Regions from separate parts of the Homo sapiens genome. Here regions 1, 2, 3 and 4 are each linked to region 5. Evidence: promoter capture Hi-C in human tissues and cell types (Jung and others, 2019). All regions are on one chromosome and are shown on one strand. Each heading gives the region's core, a stretch centred on a gene start or on the middle of the fragment in contact. The rest is flanking DNA. Distances are from core to core; before and after follow the strand shown.

What was found. The method cuts DNA at HindIII sites, captures the fragments that hold promoters and counts their contacts. A contact is called where the count stands out against the background at its distance.
Region 1: a fragment that was not itself captured here is called in contact with the fragment with the promoter of RASSF8 in region 5 in 2 of the 25 tissues and cell types used here (IMR-90 fibroblasts and hippocampus).
Region 2: a fragment that was not itself captured here is called in contact with the fragment with the promoter of RASSF8 in region 5 in 2 of the 25 tissues and cell types used here (hippocampus and stomach).
Region 3: a contact is called between a fragment that was not itself captured here and the fragment with the promoter of RASSF8 in region 5, in 1 of the 25 tissues and cell types used here (IMR-90 fibroblasts).
Region 4: a fragment that was not itself captured here is called in contact with the fragment with the promoter of RASSF8 in region 5 in 2 of the 25 tissues and cell types used here (adrenal gland and thymus).

The regions. Positions count from the first base shown.
Region 1 is chr12:25,778,735-25,782,215 of GRCh38, reverse strand. It overlaps the pseudogene RN7SKP262. Among named protein-coding and RNA genes, the nearest start is that of MIR4302, 94 kb to the left of the region's middle. The HindIII fragment of the contact is 5,223 bases long and covers 1-3,481 here.
Region 2 is chr12:26,087,255-26,090,739 of GRCh38, reverse strand. No RefSeq gene overlaps it. Among named protein-coding and RNA genes, the nearest start is that of BHLHE41, 36 kb to the left of the region's middle. The HindIII fragment of the contact is 6,648 bases long and covers 1-3,485 here.
Region 3 is chr12:25,758,614-25,762,046 of GRCh38, reverse strand. No RefSeq gene overlaps it. Among named protein-coding and RNA genes, the nearest start is that of MIR4302, 110 kb to the left of the region's middle. The HindIII fragment of the contact is 6,950 bases long and covers 1-3,433 here.
Region 4 is chr12:25,803,250-25,806,516 of GRCh38, reverse strand. It overlaps the pseudogene TDGP1. Among named protein-coding and RNA genes, the nearest start is that of MIR4302, 69 kb to the left of the region's middle. The HindIII fragment of the contact is 6,268 bases long and covers 1-3,267 here.
Region 5 is chr12:25,957,068-25,960,200 of GRCh38, reverse strand. RASSF8 (Ras association domain family member 8) reads right to left here and starts at 1,519. Exons shown (of 6, transcript NM_001394098.1): 1 at 1,053-1,519. RASSF8-AS1 (RASSF8 antisense RNA 1) reads left to right here and starts at 759. Exons shown (of 4, transcript NR_038228.1): 1 at 759-875. RefSeq lists silencers at 908-957, 1,098-1,147, 1,218-1,317, 1,418-1,907. The HindIII fragment of the contact is 6,427 bases long and covers 1-3,133 here.

The DNA of each region.
Region 1 (3,481 bases), core at 288-2,787, 180 kb after region 5:
AGAGTCTTGCTCTGTGGCCCAGGCTGGTGTGCAGTGGTATGATCTTAGCTCACTGCAACCTCCACCTCACGGGTTTAAGCGATTCTCCCAACTCAGCCTCCCCAGTGGCTAGGAATACAGGCACACGCCACCACACCCGGCTAATTTTTGTATTTTTTGGTAAAGTCGAGGTTTCACCATGTTGGCCAGGCTGGTCTCAAATCCTTGACCTCAGGTGATCTGCCCACCTCAGCCTCCCAAACTGCTGGGATTACAGGCATGAGCCACTGTGCCTGGCCTGTGTCTGTTTTCTTTAAGAGACTCCACACTTTGGGAGTTCAGGGACTGGCGCCTTATCCCTTGCCACACTCCTAGCACCTACTGTGGTGCCTTGAATATAGTTAGCACTTGGTAAGTACTTTTTTCCCTCAACATGGTTGAACTAGCTCAAATGCTTAAGAACCAATAGTTTTCTTATTTACTAATATATTTTAGTGGGAATAAGAGGATTGGAGTTTTGCAAATTTTATTCTATTATTAAGCCGGATAGAGACATAGACTTACAATTAGGTTTAAAGATAATAGGGAAAACTATTTAAAATCAGGAATGGATGGGAAGAGCCAAAATGGATAATCACTTCACATGTTGGGAAGGAGGGAGGAGGGAAAGTGAGGGGAGAAGAGAAGATACCAAGTTGATAAATCCTGTGAGAGACAGCTAAAGACAAATGTTCCCTACTTCAACATTTTACCGTAGGGAGGTCCTGAAGCCCGGGATGTAATTATCTTGGCTGGAACTCCCAGACGAGGGTAAATAGAAATCTGAGTGTGTCAACAAATTATTTAATTAAACAGAGTACATGGCAGTGTGAAAGCAAAATTATAATGTGCAATAAGATAATGTGATTGAAAGCTTCAGCTGCGATGGAATGGAGAGAGTAAGACATTGAAAGAAAAATGATACAGTCCTGAGGAACAGGCCATGGACTGGGGTAGCCAATGTGAAAAATAAAACAAGAAGTCAGATAAAGAAAATGGAATTGTATTATTCAAGAATACCTGTTTATTTAGATCAACCCCTTGGGTTTAAAATAAATTTAAAAGCAATTGAGATTAAGCCATCGTTTTAGATGAGCCAAGGAGGCCTGAAAGTGGCATTAAAAAGGTCTCAGGATTTGTGGCATCAGCATAAAAGTGGCAGTTACAATTAGAAGCAGAAGTGAAATGGCTAAGATGTAGAAAAGCAAGAAATGAACAGATGGCCAAAGCATTCAGCTTGCTAGGGTGCTAAAACCAGATATATTTTATATTTCATTCCAAGTTAACAAATATTAGGACATTAAAATGCATGAACGTGGTGTGTTTTCCATCTTGCCATGTTTTTATTACCAAGTTAGGGGGAAAAAAGTAGGCTGCACGTAATGTATGCAAATGCATCAGTCTAAACAAATGCAGAGTCAGTGGAGATCAGGAAGGTCGGCTGGATTTCTATTTTCTAAAGAGCTGCCTGGTCAATTGCATCCTAAGCTTCCTGTGTCCAGATAGTCCTAAGTGGCCACCCACTTCCAGAAAGACTACAAGGGTTAGATTGCTGAATGACACTTTCTTTAAAGGTGGTAGTAGCTCCCAATGACGTTTATACATGGAAGATGTTTTTATTGAACTTTAGTATGTCATTCACCCTAAGCAATCATTAATACAAGGTAAGGTCACTGTGATCAGTGGAATATTGATAATACCAGACTGTCATTACAAGACCCATTTCTTACACATTTTCTGTGGAGCCTGGAGCTTTCTCTGTAGACTGAGGCCACAGTTAAGCACAAAATTTTCAATGGTTTGCAAGCTTACTGGTTAAGGAATAGGAGTATGTTTAGAGTCACTCATCTCTCCTGAACTTCTTTATTTGATCTCAGCCAATATCTAGGCTTCCGAAACCAGATCACGATGCTGAGTCCCTAATGGAAAACTTGTTGAGTTCCTTTTTTTCATGATTGTCAATTTCCAGGCTACCAGATTCTCTTGTCTGTCTTCAGAATACATAGCCATGCGTCTCTGAAAATAAAGAACAATTTCTCCCTCTCCACTTTTCATTTTTACCTGGACCAAAATTGCACTATATTCATTCATCCAGTCAGTCACTTAATCTATATTTATTGAGTGCTGATTATGTGGTAGGTACTGAGCCAGGAACTAGGGATGAAATGGTTTCTGCACTTATGTTCAAAAAGAGATTGACTTTCTCACAGTCTGTGTTTATTAACTTTGACTCCCTTTGACATAATCTAAATGCAGTGGAGAAAAACATTCACACCTAACATCTATGGAGGCTGAAGCTGTACATATAAAGAAATACTCAAGAGAGTGTGTGCCCTTCCTTTATTTCCATCTCCTGACCTGCTCCAAGTTATGTTCTGGAAAATACTATTAGATTGGTACAAAAGTAATTGCACTAACTAAATATGCACACAAAAAGCATCTGTGAACAACACTAATTTGCTCTCAGGCTGCAGGGGTCATTGAAAAAAGAGCATTTAGCTTCCTCTAGTACCATATTAGTATCTGGAAGGAATACAGTTTTTGACCAAAGAGAAGGAAAAAAAATTGTGCGTATATTGTATGGTTACATTATTTCATATGAATGTATGGAAAGATGTATGTGTATGTGGATGTGAGGGTCATCTGGCTGAGACATCTGTCACCCGATTGATGGCCAGGGTTGATTTGGCTGATCTGGCCGGCTAGGTGGGTGTCCCCTTTCTCACAGCTCCATGTGCATCTCTCCTGAGGCTGCTTGGTCAAAAAGGATGGCCTTCCCTGATAGAGGAGGATCATTTTTCAGTCAAGGGTATATAAGTCTTTGTGCTCTCCGGCTAGGACCTCCCAACAAGATATATGTGTATGTAAATTAATATGTATATATTTTATTATATATGTATAATTTACCTATGTGTAAACGCAACACCAAATAACATATACTTTTTTTTTGAGACAAGAGTCTCACTCTGTTGCCCTGGCTGGAGTGCAGTGGTGCAATAACAGCTCACTGCAGCCTCTATCTCCCAGGCTCAAGCAATCTTCCTGCCTCAGCCTCCCAAGTAGCTGGGACCATGTGTGTGCGCCACCACACCTGGCTAATTTTTAAAGTGTTTGGAAAGATGGGGTCTTACTATGTTGTTCAAGCTGGTTTCAAACTCCTGGGCTCAAGCAATCCTCCCACCTCAGCCTCCCAAAGTGCTGGGATTAGAGATGTGAGCCACCACACCTGGCCAACAAATACATTTTTAAATATGGTTAATGCAACCCTCACAGTAGCCATGGACTTGAGGAAATGCTATGTATGTGTGTGTGTGTGTTGGGATAAGGATGGAGGCTAGGGCAGGGTAGAGAGACTACGAGAAGGGATGCAGAGCACAGAAGCACAGAATTCCTTAGTGTCTTCTATCATAATTATTGAAGGGCTATGAATGGTACGAGAACCATGGCCAGTAGTGATGATAGG
Region 2 (3,485 bases), core at 220-2,719, 130 kb before region 5:
AGTGAACAAAACAAACATGGTCCCTGCCCTTGTGCTGCTTACAGATAGGTATCAAATAACCAGAAAAATCACTGTATAATTACATAACTGTGTGACAGAAAGCAAAGAATGCTATTAGCATTTAATAGGTGAACCTAATCTGGTGGGAAGGGAAGGGAGGTTGTTAGGTAAGACTTTTTTTTTTTTTTTTTTTTTTTAAGACAGAGTCTTGCTCTGTCGCCAGGCTGGAGTGCAGTGGTGCAATCTCAGCTCACTGCAACCTCCACCTCCTGGGTTCAAGTGATTCTCCTGCCTCAGCCTCCTGAGTAGCTGGGACTACAGGTGCCTGCCACCACGCCTGGCTAATTTTTGAATTTTTGTACAAAAATGATGATCTCGATCGCTTGACCTCGTGATCCACCTGCCTCGGCCTCCCACAGTGCTGGGATTACAGGAGTTAGCCACTGTGTCCGGCCCAGGTAAGACTTTTTAGCTAAAACCAGTAGGACAGGCTGACGATTGGAGACACAGAGGCCTCTCCATGCAGGATCAGTCCTTAAGAGCAACAGGCAGCCCGATGTGCAAGAGCACCCTGCCACCATGAAAGAAGCCTGAGGGGAGGAGGCCAGTCCAGCTACACAGTGGGGACACTGGATCCCCACACTAGGGAGCTGTGTTCGGAGTTATTGACCTTCTTCCATCTGTTACCTCTTCATTGTTCTCTGTTTCCCTGGCTGCCCATACTGTGGACAATGCTTAGTAAAAAACTTTGAAGAAATTGAATTGACTGACAAATTTAAGTTGCAGCCATGTTTGTTATTTCTGTTCTTCATCTGCGTGATTTTCAAACCTTTCTGTATTCATTGTCCTTAATACATATCAGAGAATTGTGGAGTGCTAGTGCTGGAAAAGACAGAAATGAACTCACCTTAGCTCTTTATTTTACAAAAGTAGGAACTAAGGCCCAGAGAGACTCAGTGCCTTGCCCAGTGTTTGATGGCTATTATGGAATAAAGATGATTTGGAACTGCTGGGCCTCCAGACTCCTTTCTACTTTCTAATTTACTATTTGCTTTCTCTTAAAGTGCCTGATAGAGTCAGGAAATGGGGAGTTTAAACAAACATGAAGTCAACCTATTGGAAACTACTTCCAATAAAAATCTATCAGAAATGAAGCAACTCTGGCAATAAAGGGTATGCCAGAAGCTAAATGAAACAGGCATATATCTCTCCACAACACTCAAACTTAAATATTATAAATATTATATTTATTTTTTTCTTAATTAAATACAATATCAGTTAATTTTTGGCACTTTCCCTATTCTTCTTATGTCCTTATCTTTGGATGGCATAAGAACCCCTGAGCTAATATAATTCAGGGACAAAGGCAAGGGGTCTGGTTCTCAGCCCCTGTTGAGGGAGAAGCATTCAAAGGTAGCTGACTAAGCCAGCAGCTCTGCTCCCCTTCCTTCACACACAAACGAATGCACATACACATGCATGCATACACACACATACTCCAGGCAAGCTCAGCATGGGAAATTCCCCAGGCTGCCATGATGCTTCAGAAGCACTGTGCAAACAGCTTTGCAACCCTCATCCACTTTCAGTCTTGAGCAATACTGTCTCCAGGTGGTGTCTTACTTCCCTATTTAACCTCACTCCTCAGGTCCAGTGCAGCTTATTCCGTTCACTGTGTTGGCTTATTATCTTTAAAACATAAGCATTATCTTCAGGGCATTCTACTCCTATCTCAAAATTATCTTCACATACGCAAAACCACTCGCATACAAAAAGCAATTTACTACCCTAAGAGGTAAGAAGAGCCGAGATACTTGACTCCCTAATAATCTTATTTCTTTTCTGGGCATGGGGGCTGGAGAGCAAAGAAAGGTAATGTTGATAGTCTCTAGAAAATCTAGAGTTGCTAAAACCAAAACAAAAGAAACTAAAAACTAAAAAAGACATTGGTTAAATTTGTCCTTATATGATCCTGTTACCGAAGTACAATTCGGTTTAGACAAACGTCCCATCCACCTGTTGTTAGATAGTGACTGCTATGGTCTGAATGTTTGTGTCACCCAAAATTCATCTGTTGAAATCCTAGCCCCGTAGGTGATGGTGTTAAGAGGGGAGGCCTTTTCGGAGGTGGTTATGTCATGGGGGGTGGCCCAAGGGAGCTTGTTTGCCCCTTTCATCGTGTGAGGCCACAGCAAGAAGGTGACGTCTAAGATGAATGGGCCGTCACCAGACACCAAATCTGCTGGCACTTTGATCTTGAATTTCCCAGCCTCCAGAACTGTGAGAAATAAATTTCAGTTGTTTATAAGCTACCCGATTAATGGCATTTTTTGTTATAGCAGTCCAAACAGATGAAGACACTAACTCTTCTCCCAGTGCTTTTAGCTTCTAATTCCTCCTGGTCTCCTTCTCTGGCCTCTTCTACCTGTGGGTGTCATAATTGTAGATATTCCATCTATGTAATTGTAGATGCTCCTGTCCTTGGCCCTCTTCTTGGATGACACCAGCACTTCTGCAACTTGAATGTGCATGTAAGTAACATGGAATCTCACTAAAATATATATTCTAGCTCAGTAAGTGGGGCCTGAGGCTCTACATTTCCAACCAACCCCCAGGCAACACCAAGGCTGCTGGTCCTATGACCATCCTGGGTAATAAATGCTTAGATTTCTGAGAAAGTTTACCTCGTCTTCATTTTTAAATATATTTGTATGTATTTGAGGACTGGGCGAGGTGGCTCGCACCTGTAATCCCAGCACTTTGGGAGGCCGAGGCAGGCGGATCACAAGGTCACGAGATCGAAACCAGCCTGACCAACATGGTGAAACCCCATCTCTACTAAAAATACAAAAATTAGCTGGGCGTAGTGGCACATGCCTGTAATGCCAGCTACTCAGGAGGCTGAAGCAGGAGAATTGCTTGAACTAAGGAAGCAGAGGTTGCAGTGAGCTGAGATCGCGCCACTGCACTCCAGCCTGGTGACGGAGCGAGACTCCATCTCAAAATAAAAATAAAAATAAAAAATTACAAGATTAGCTGGGCATGGTGGCTTATACCTGTAATCCCAGCTACTCAGGAGGCCGATGCAGGAGAATTGCTTGAACCTGGGAGGCGGAGGTTGCAGTGAGCTGAGATCATGCCATTGCACTCCAGCCTGGGCAACAAGAGTGAAACTCCGTCTCAAAATCAATCAATCAATAAATAAAATTTTAAAAATAAAGAATACATATACATATATATTTGTATGCATTTGGGATGGTGTTGGCGGGGTGCGGGGAGTTCTACATTTTCAACTATTGTCTCTGTGCAGTTAGTTTCTATATGTCTGTCTTCAGCTTTGTTTCTTTGTCAAAGTTCAGATATGCAAATTCAAACCCTTTCTGGAGATCTCAATGCAGATCCTACCAGCATCTCAACAGGACAAGTGTAAAACTTTACTCATCTTGTAAATATCTTCTTTCCTAGTAGATCCCATGTCCACTAAA
Region 3 (3,433 bases), core at 642-3,141, 200 kb after region 5:
TTGGTTCATCAATTATAACAAATGTACTACAAAATGCAAGGTGTTAATAAATAGAGGAAATCGGGGAAGGGGTAAAGGAGATAAAAGAATTCTTTTTACTTTTCTACTCATTTCTTCTGTAAGCCTAAAACTGCTGAAAGAAAAAAAAAAGAAGTCTATTAATTAAAAAAAGAAAAAAGATCCCATGCAAAACATTCACTGGAGAGCAATCAGTTACTAATTTAGTGAACACATTTTTAAAGTCTTTCTAAAATTTGCAATTTGCTCCAATGCTTGAATTTAGATGAAGATTATATTGTCTAATCGTAAGTCATATTGTTGTTTTTTTGTAGAGACAGGGTGTCCCCATGTTGCCCAGGCTGGCCTTGAACTCCTGGGCTCAAGCAATCCTCCCACCTCAGCCTTCCAAAGTGTTGGAATTACAGGTGCAAGCCACCACACTCAGCCTAGTCATAAATTTTAATAGTTCATGAAAAAAGAGTCCAAAGTTCTTACCACATCGACTGTATTTACTGTTAAGTCATCACAATGTCTTTATGCCAGCATTTTCCAAATAAAAAACCCGAGGAATGTTAATCCTGTAAAATCATCTTGGAAGAAAATTTCTGATCAAATTAGGGAAATACAGTACTCAATAATATTCCCTTATTGAAATTTCACAATGCATATTGGCATATTAAAATCTCCCAGAAGTCCTGCCCAAAACAAATCTATTAACTGCGTTTAATCCAGACTATTTCAATTATTAAACCACAGAATTTTCTTTTTCAGTAAAACATATTAAAATCTGTGGGACATTACTTCTGAGTAACATGCTTAGAAAAGTGCTGCGTAATGCGATTATAAAATGTTTTATTTCTAACAAATAGGATCCTACTTTGTTTATAGCTTTATTGAAAATATTAATTTACAATAAATCACACATGTTTAAAGTGGATAATTTAATGACACCTATTTATACATCTGTGAAACCATCATCCCAGCCAAGATAATGAACACATCCATCAAACCCCCCCAAATTTCTTTATATCACTTTGTAAGTCTTCTATTCCATTCTTCCTTAACCTTATTCCCAGGGAACTTTTGTTTGCTTTCTGCAACCATAGATTTGTTTACGTTTTCTAGAATATTTTATAAATGGAATTATATAGTATGTTATATACTGAATGTTTGTGTTCCCCTCAAATTTATAGGTTGAAATCCCGATCCCCAGTGTGATAGTATTGGGAACGGGGGCTTTTGGGAAGTAATTAGATAATGGGATCAATGTTTGAATCAGAGGAGATACGAAAGCTTGCTCTCTCTGCTCTGTTTTCTATGAGTGAAGAGGCAATATGAAGACAGCCATCTGCAAGTCAGTAAATGGGCCCTCTCAAGACATCAGATCTCATGGCACCTTAATCTTAGACTTCATAGCCTCCAGAACTGTAACAAATAAATGTTCATTGTTTAAGACAACCAGTCTATGGTAACTGGTTACAGTAGTTTGAACTGAATAACATAAAGTATGTATTCTTCGTGTTCTGGCTTCTTTCACCCAACATAATTATTTTGAGGTCCATCCATGCAGTTGCATATATAGTTCATTCTTTTTCATTGCTGACTAGATTCCATTTTATGGATATACTATTATTTTCATATCCATTAACACATTAAGAAACATTTAGATTGTCTCTGGTACTTGGCTTTTATAATAAAGCTGCTATGACATTCATGTGTAAGTTTTTGTATACATATATGCTTTCATTTCTCTTAAACACATAGAAGTAGAAAAGCTGAATCATATAGTAGATGTGTGTTTAACTTTTGAAGAAACTTCAGACTGTTTTCCAAAGGAATTGTACCATGCTATAGTCTCACAAGCAGGATATAAGGGTTGCAGTTCTTCCACATCCTTGTCAATACTTGGTATGCTAAGTCTTGTTAATTTTATTCATTTTACTAGTTGTGTAGTGGTATCTCATTTTTAAAAATTTCCATTCCTCAATGACGAATGCTATTGAGTATCTTTTCATGTGCTTATTTGCCACTTGTGTATTTTCTTTGAGGAATGTCTGTTCAAATCTTTTGCCCATTTTCAAGGCATTGGGTTGTTAGAGAGTTCCTTAAATATTTGAGATATGAGTTCGTTACCAGATATGTCATGTGAAGACATTGTTACCCAGTTGGTGATTTATCCTTTCATTTTCTTCACAGTGTCTTTCAGAGAGTAAAAATGTTTAATTTTGATGAAGTCCATTGGACTGTTTTTTTGGTTTTGTACATGTTGTATGAGGAATGGATTGGAGTTTTTGTTTTGCTTTGTTTTTGGATGCTAATGTTCCATTTTTCCAAAACCATTTGTGGAAAAAAACTCTATTTTATCCACTGGGTTGCCTTTACACACTTGTCAATCAATTGTCCACCTAAGTAACCCACAAAAAACTATTAGAGTTCATAAACAACATCTAATTGTAATTGTGGATTTATCTCTTTCTTCTTGCAGTTCCATCTATTTCTGATTCAGATATTTTGAAGATCTGTTATTGGAGGTCTTAATGTTTAAGAATGTTATATCCTCCTGATGAATTTACCCTCTTTTTCATTATGAAATGCCTCTCTTTATCCCTGTTACATTGTTTACTCTGATGTTAATGTAGCTACTCCAGCCTTCTTTTTATTCACATTAGTACACTATATCTTTTTGTATCCTTTACTTTGAACTTATTTGTATCTTCTAACGAAGCATATAATTAGGTCAGTTTTATTTAATCTGAGAAGCTCTGCCTTTAGTTGGTATGTTCAGACCTTTTACATTCAATGTGATTATTACAATCTACCATCTTACTATTTATTTTCTATTGTCACATACGTTCTTCTTCCATTTTCTCTTTCTCCAGTGTTTTTTATGATTCTAGTTCATCTCCATTGTTTGTGCATTAGCTATAAATAATTTTTTGTGTTAGTGTAGTTATTGTTTGGGGGATTATACTATACATCTTTAGTTTATCACAGTTTAACTTCAAGCACTGTTACATTACTTCAAGTATAAGACCCCTACAAAATACACTTCCTTTTCTCCTCTCCTGGTCTTTGTGCCATTGTCTTCATACATTTTACTTCTCTATGGGTTATAAACTCCATGATGCATTAGTAATATTTTGCTTCAATCTGTTGATTAACTTATTATTTTTGTTTTGTTTTGTTTGAAATGGAGTCTCACTCTGTTGCCCAGGCTGGAGTGCAGTGGCGCAATCTTGGCTCACTGCAACCTCCACCTCCCGGCTTCAAGCAATTCTCCTGCCTCAGCCTCCCAAGTAGCTGGGACTACAGGCACACGCTACCACACCCAGCTAATTTTTGTATTTTTAGTAGAGACGTGGTTTCACCATGTTGGCCAGGATGGTCTTGATCTCCTGACCTCGTGATCTGCCCGCCTCGGCCTCCCAAAGTG
Region 4 (3,267 bases), core at 704-3,203, 150 kb after region 5:
GAGCCCCAATGAGGTGTTCTCTAGATCATCAAAGTTGACAAGCTCCCTTTGCAGGTCAGTCCCCCAGCATGCAGTGACGTTATGATGTTTAGGAAGGTCAGGGGATGGCCAAAAATCACTAAATGTTCCTGATCTCTACTTTCTGGTTTCTTAGTCATTTCCTTAAAGACATCTTGTGGTCTGCTTACTTCCTTTGCCACCTTTTTTGAGTGTAAGTATCATGTGGATACCTTTTGACTTTTTTGTTTTTTTTTTTTTGAATTTTAAAATCTTTCAATATTATTTAATGAAAAAGTCTCACACTGTCATGTACAGGATATATCAACATTTACTACTCATCTGTCATGTTAGGAAAAACATCATTATTACACGCTTGGAAAATCCTCAAACCCATCTCTAGTGGATGTCTGTCATAATTTAAACGGTATTTTCCCCATTCAAATAAAACAATCTCTTGTAAAGCTACAACAGTTATATACCAAAGCAATACCTAGTTACATGCTTTACACGGTCCCGTGAAAAAATAATTTAATTGCTCCTAATCCCTGATGCAAGGCACTTCAAAGCACCCGCACAAAACGTCCATGTAAACAGCAGTACAGTGCATCATTTAAATAACATAAATGACTTTTACACAGCTTGACCTAGGAAAAAATAAAATCCATCATAGCCACAGCTAAAAAGCATGTTAAGATTCACAACAAGAATTTGTTTCTCTTATTATAAAGAGAAGAGCAATCATAAAACCTCCTGGGGGTGGGGGAGACCTCATAAATATTTTATATTGATTGACAAAACAGCATGCTCCCTGGGTATGTATGAAATCAGAATATTCAGGAGTAACTGAGAGGATGCAAATGACATTTCTTAGTACCCAGCTTTAATATCTACCAGGCCTGGTAGTCTGGATTATTTGTAGCACCATGGAAAACTCATTAGAAAATCACAAAGGTATATACCTCAACCTTTCCATGAGGTTCATTTAATTATAGTAAAAAACAGCAGTGATGCAGATAAAGAATCTTTAAAATTATTGGCTTACTGGATTTACCTAGCAAGAAAAACTCTATATTACTTATTTTAGTACATCTCATGTACATAAAGCACCAGTTTAAATGAGATTATCAAATATCTCCAGCATCTTTTTGCTTAGCCTAAAAGTTCATTTCTTATCACTTTCCATGGCACATTCTTAAAGCCAAGGAAGATAAAACTAGAATGGTTATAAATATGAATGGAGAAATTCAGTTCCTTCCCTATCATATTTACGTGTCTCAAGTAAAACATAGATGAGTGGCAAAAGGTCTACTGCATTCTCTGGAACCTGCCACCCCAGAGTAGTTACTAGCTACTAGAGGATTAACACACAGGGCTGAGCAGGTCAAAGCCAGGGCTCTGTCAGGTAAGGGCCAGTTTTTACTACTGAGCAACCCACAAACACCACTGGTAAAGCAAAGAGGTCTGAGTGTGCATATAGCTCAGGAAACCCTGAGTTTACCCTTAGTTACCACTAAAAACTAACAAATGAGACTCTGCTGAGGCTTAACTTCATATACAAAAATCAACACCTTTGCCTCTTTGACAGTGGTAATTATTAGCATGCCCTTCTTAGGTATAAAAGGGATAATGGTATATCTAGGTTTATGCACAGTTAAGAATCAACTACAAATATTCAGACTTGTATTTTAAAATTACAGATCAAAAGTGACTCCCAAAAGAAAATCAATTTCTTCATAAATGAAACATAGTATATAAAAAGCTGGAATGATGATTAATTCAAATACAAAAGCTAGTATACAACAACCCTACTTTTTCTTCCAAACTACTTAGGTTCATACGGTTCACACTACCACACAACTGTTCTACATTACAATTACACCACTAGAGTAAAATACTAATAAAACACTTCAGTTAGCAAGCTGAGGTTCTACTTGTTGACAACTGCATTAAAACTGCAGCATTTAAGCAGAGCTGAGAAGCACCGTTCTTAAGCATGGCTTTCTTCTTCCTGTTCTTGTGTTCCACAGTGATTATTAAAGGAAGGAATTTGGTCTGTAAATGACTGGGTCATCCACTGCTCATTAGGAATGCCACTGAAAGTTGATTCTCCTCTTAACTCCAGGCTCTCAATTAGCCCATTTGAAGAGAAGCTGCAAGGTTCACTGTCGCATGGATTTTCTCCGTAAGCACCACCATATGCTGCCTCATAACCCAGATCATATTTTTCTTCCTTAACAGCCATCTTCTTTGCATCTTCTTGGGCAAGCTGTAGGTCAAATGTATATTGCACCTCTTGAACGTCCGTATTTCGTTCAATGCCTCTCAACTGATCTCTTAAGTCTTTCAGTTTTATGTAGTAATGAACTTTGTCTTGGGCCCGAGGAAACTGAGCACTTCTTGCACTGGATGACGGCATAACATAGCAGAGAGTTTCTGTGCCTGGAATCTTATGGGGCTGAAGCCCAAATTCCAAGTTCTTAACCTTTACACCAAAAACTTCTTTACTAAAAATTTCATAAATACATTTTCCATTAAACACTGCTATTCGTGGCTGATATTTCTATAATTTCTGTACTAGAATACGTCCTCCTTCACGAAATTCTTTACTGGAGAGATCTTTGCTGCCAGGCGTGGTCCTTTCCACCATGTTGGTAAATCCAATACCATACTTCCCTGGTAGAGTGTGATCATCCATATGGTTCACCTGGACCTCACTGAGCCCTGACATAAACAAACACTTCCAAAAATGGTTTCCAGGTCCAGGGTAATGATGCCCTTTGTAAGCAGCCATTAGACCCGGGTTTATGCCAATAATGACAATGTCCAGATTGAAGGTCAAAATATCGGGGAGAGTCTTGGTCAGAAGTTCAGCTTCTGAAACACCATTAAAACGGTCTACTTTTCTTTTGACTTTAAATGTGTCTGTAATTTTTCTTGCTTTTCTTTTGATTTTGCAGACTTGCTAGATTTTTTTGACTCAACAGGTTTTTTGGGTTCCACTGGTTGTTTTGGTTCTGTTGTTCTGGGTTTTCTTTTTCTTCCTTTTGGAGCCTCTTGCACTGGTTCCTGAGCAGGAGCTGGGGCTGGAACTTCTTCTGGCATTTGCTGTTCATTCACAACTGCCATATTAGGAGCTTCAGCCATCAGTTGTTGAAATGGAAACGTATAAAAAGCTTGAGCTTGCTGAAGGGAGTAGCTGCCCGCGTTCTCCGCTTCCATTCCCCGAGGCCGCTGATGCGGGCAGCTCCACCTGCCAGGCACACGGGC
Region 5 (3,133 bases), core at 270-2,769:
TTAATCTAATGGAGAGAAAAGCAGAGATTTATACATATTTTAAAATGCTTCCTGGGGACAAAGCAGATCTAATGAATTGCTGAGCCACAATCTACTGGAAAATCCATAAATGTTCGTCCCTGCTGTCACAGGGCTAGAGGATTTTTTTTTTTAATGAAATGCTTTAATGCTAACCTGACAGGGCTAACCTGACAGGTTTAAGTCAGCTATGAGACGTGATTTGCATTCATTTCGCTTCTAAATCCCTAAAGATCAGCAACAATATTGACCCGCAATTATATATCCTACGTTGCACTGTTCAAGATGCCATTTGAGGCTGGGAAAGTAGTGGTTTAGCAACACCAGGCGGCTCTATGATGCTAAAATAACAACGCAACACTGGATTCCGAACCCAAGTACTCATCTTTTAAAACCCAGTGCCGCACCAGGACCCACATTCAAAGCTCGCGTCCCTTCAAGTTGAATCTTCCGGCTTTGTGCGATTTACCCTCTCAAACTTTCTAGTTTGCAAGTCAGAATTACTTTGAACGTCCCCTCTTCTGGACTCCCCTCCCCAAAGGGACTGGCGGCAAAGGAGAATAGAATGCAGATGGTTAATAGTTCAAATGAAATTTAAAAACCTATAAACCAATATTTTTTTAGAGGAGAAAAGCGTTCACCAAACCGCCACCCGGCAAGCGAGCATCCGATTTCCATCCGGAGGAAAAAATATTTTAAAAACCAGACATAAAATTCCCTTTGCAAGAAAAGTGGCCTCTAAACTCCCTTGCCAAGGACACTGGGAGGAAGCAGAAAAGCAAAGACCAAGCTCGTACTTTTCAGTCCGCGGCTTGTGTGCCGCGAGGAGAGGCGCAAAGGGTGACACACCAGGAAAGGTGAACGCAGAGGGAGCGGGAGCCCGCGGCGGGGCAGGGTGGGGGCGGAACGGACGAGGTACCCAAGGTGCGGAGAGAGGGGCAACCGGGCGGAGGGCAGCTCCGAGGCTGCAGGCGGGACGGGCGGGGTCCCCGGCGCAGCCCGGATCGCCGCCGCTAAGTAAAGTTAATACTTACTCAGTTTCGCAACTGCGCCGCCCCCGCAGGCCGCCCAGAGGGGCCGGCCGGGGCGCTGGGGACGCGGCGGCACCCGGAGCTCCGCGGCCGCCCAGCGCCCGTCCCCGCGCCGCACTCCCCGGCACTCCCCGGCGCTCCCCGCGCCGCGCGCCCCGCACCGGCTGGAGGCCCCGGCCCCCCGGCGTTCCCTCTCCGCGCACCTCCCGGCCCGCGCTAGGTGAGTGTGGACGCCACTGGCGGGGGTGCCGCGGTGCGCGAGCGCTCGGCCAGCGGCAGAGACGCCGCGGGAGCCGCCCCCAGCGCCAACGCCGCCGCGGGCGGGAAGGGCGAGGCTCGGCGAGGCTGGGCGAGGAGCTGGGCGGCAGACGCTGAGCGGGGCGCGGCGCGGGGCGCCGGACGAGCGCGGGCGTAGGAGGAGCGCGGGCGTAGGAGTCGGCGACCCGCTCGCTCCCGCGGCCGGTGCCTCTGGGCTGGGGGCCGGGCTGGGGGCCGGGCCGGGCCGGGCCGGGCCGGGCGGCCAGGCGGCTCCGCCCCTTCGCCGGGCAGCGGCTGAGCGCGCGAGAGGAGCGGCGCGGGGGCGCCCCCCTCGGCCGGGCGCTCGGGTTTCAGCCGCCGCTCCTCCGCGCCCCGCCCGCGCCTGGCCCGCTCGCCGGCGCCGGGAGAGACCTCGTAACGGAACTGGGACGCCAGCGCTGCATTGTGGGAGCTTTTAAAGCGGCGGGGAGCTCGGCGCGACCCTCGGGCCCACCGGGCCACGCTCGCCCGGCCCGCGACGCCCCCCCGCTGTCGCCTGGCCCGCGACGCACCGAGGCCTGAGGACCCGAAAGCCGGGCGCGGGGAGATGACCGGTGGCTCGTGACGGTCCCACGGGCAAAATCTTCCATCGCCCGGGGCTGAGACTTGTCAAACTGCCCTCTACGGTCACCCGGAAAGTAGGAGGCTTTTTCTGCAGAGGGGAAAAAAATCAAAAAGAGCCGTTCCATCCCCCCTCCAAGGACTGGGTTTGAATTGCTTTTCATCTGCAGTGGCTGTGATTCAGCGTCCCTCTTAGCAGCAGGCAATGACAGAGGCAGGAGAGGGGAAAAAAAAAAAGAAAGAAAGAAAAAACACAGCAAATGAATCAAACGGACGTGAGTAACAAAAGTTTAGAAAGAGCTGGGCTCGTATTCAGAAAAAACGCCTCATCCCCCCGCCCCGCTGCACTCCCAACCCCTTTAAAAATAGCAGATAATCAAGAAAGGAAACGGGTGCTTTCATATGGAAATACAGATGTGTATGTTGTTTTCAATATTCTACTGTTTTTTTGTGTGTGGCATGCAATTACTCAGGCACTGGGCAAAATTCAGCCTTTGGATTTTGTGGTCACACATACCCCAACTCCGCAACAGCTATTAATTTGCAGGGCGATGGGGTGCGGATAGTGGATGAGATACAAGAAAGCATTCCAATTAAAATGCCCCCCCCCACCCCGCCTTTTAATTTTCCAGACACTTGCTTTTATTTTTCTTTTTTTAAACATCATCAAAACAAGAATATTAAACTTGAAGCAGAATTTGTTACAGCGTATCTGACTCAGGACCTGATTTAAGGTTTGGGGTTTTTTGGCCCTTTGTTTCTTCCTCTTGTTTTTTGACCTTTAGTTACTCCACACCTCATTAGTTCCTTGACCTGCAGGTGGACTGAGAAGAGAGCCATGGTAAGACTCAAATTTGTCAAATCAACATTTGGAGAGGAGAAAGTTCACTGTGATTCAAATGCAAAACCAAAGGGAATATGATTTAAAAGTCAACCTGGAGGGCATGGATCCTCCCTTAACCCTACTTGACTCTTTTCAAAGGAGTTGCCTAGCCTTAAGGTGAATGTTTCCTAACCTCTCATTCCCTTCTCAGCCTTTCACTCCACTGAACAACATCAGCCATTGCTTAATTGCCAAATCTAATGGAAAAATTTAATTCCCATCTTGTGCCCTTTGTGGCATTTGCCAATGTTGACCTCTCCTTCTTAGAACTTTCTGCCTTTTGGCCGGGCGCGGTGGCTCATGCCTATAACCCCAGCACTTTGGGAGGCCAAGGCTGGCAGAT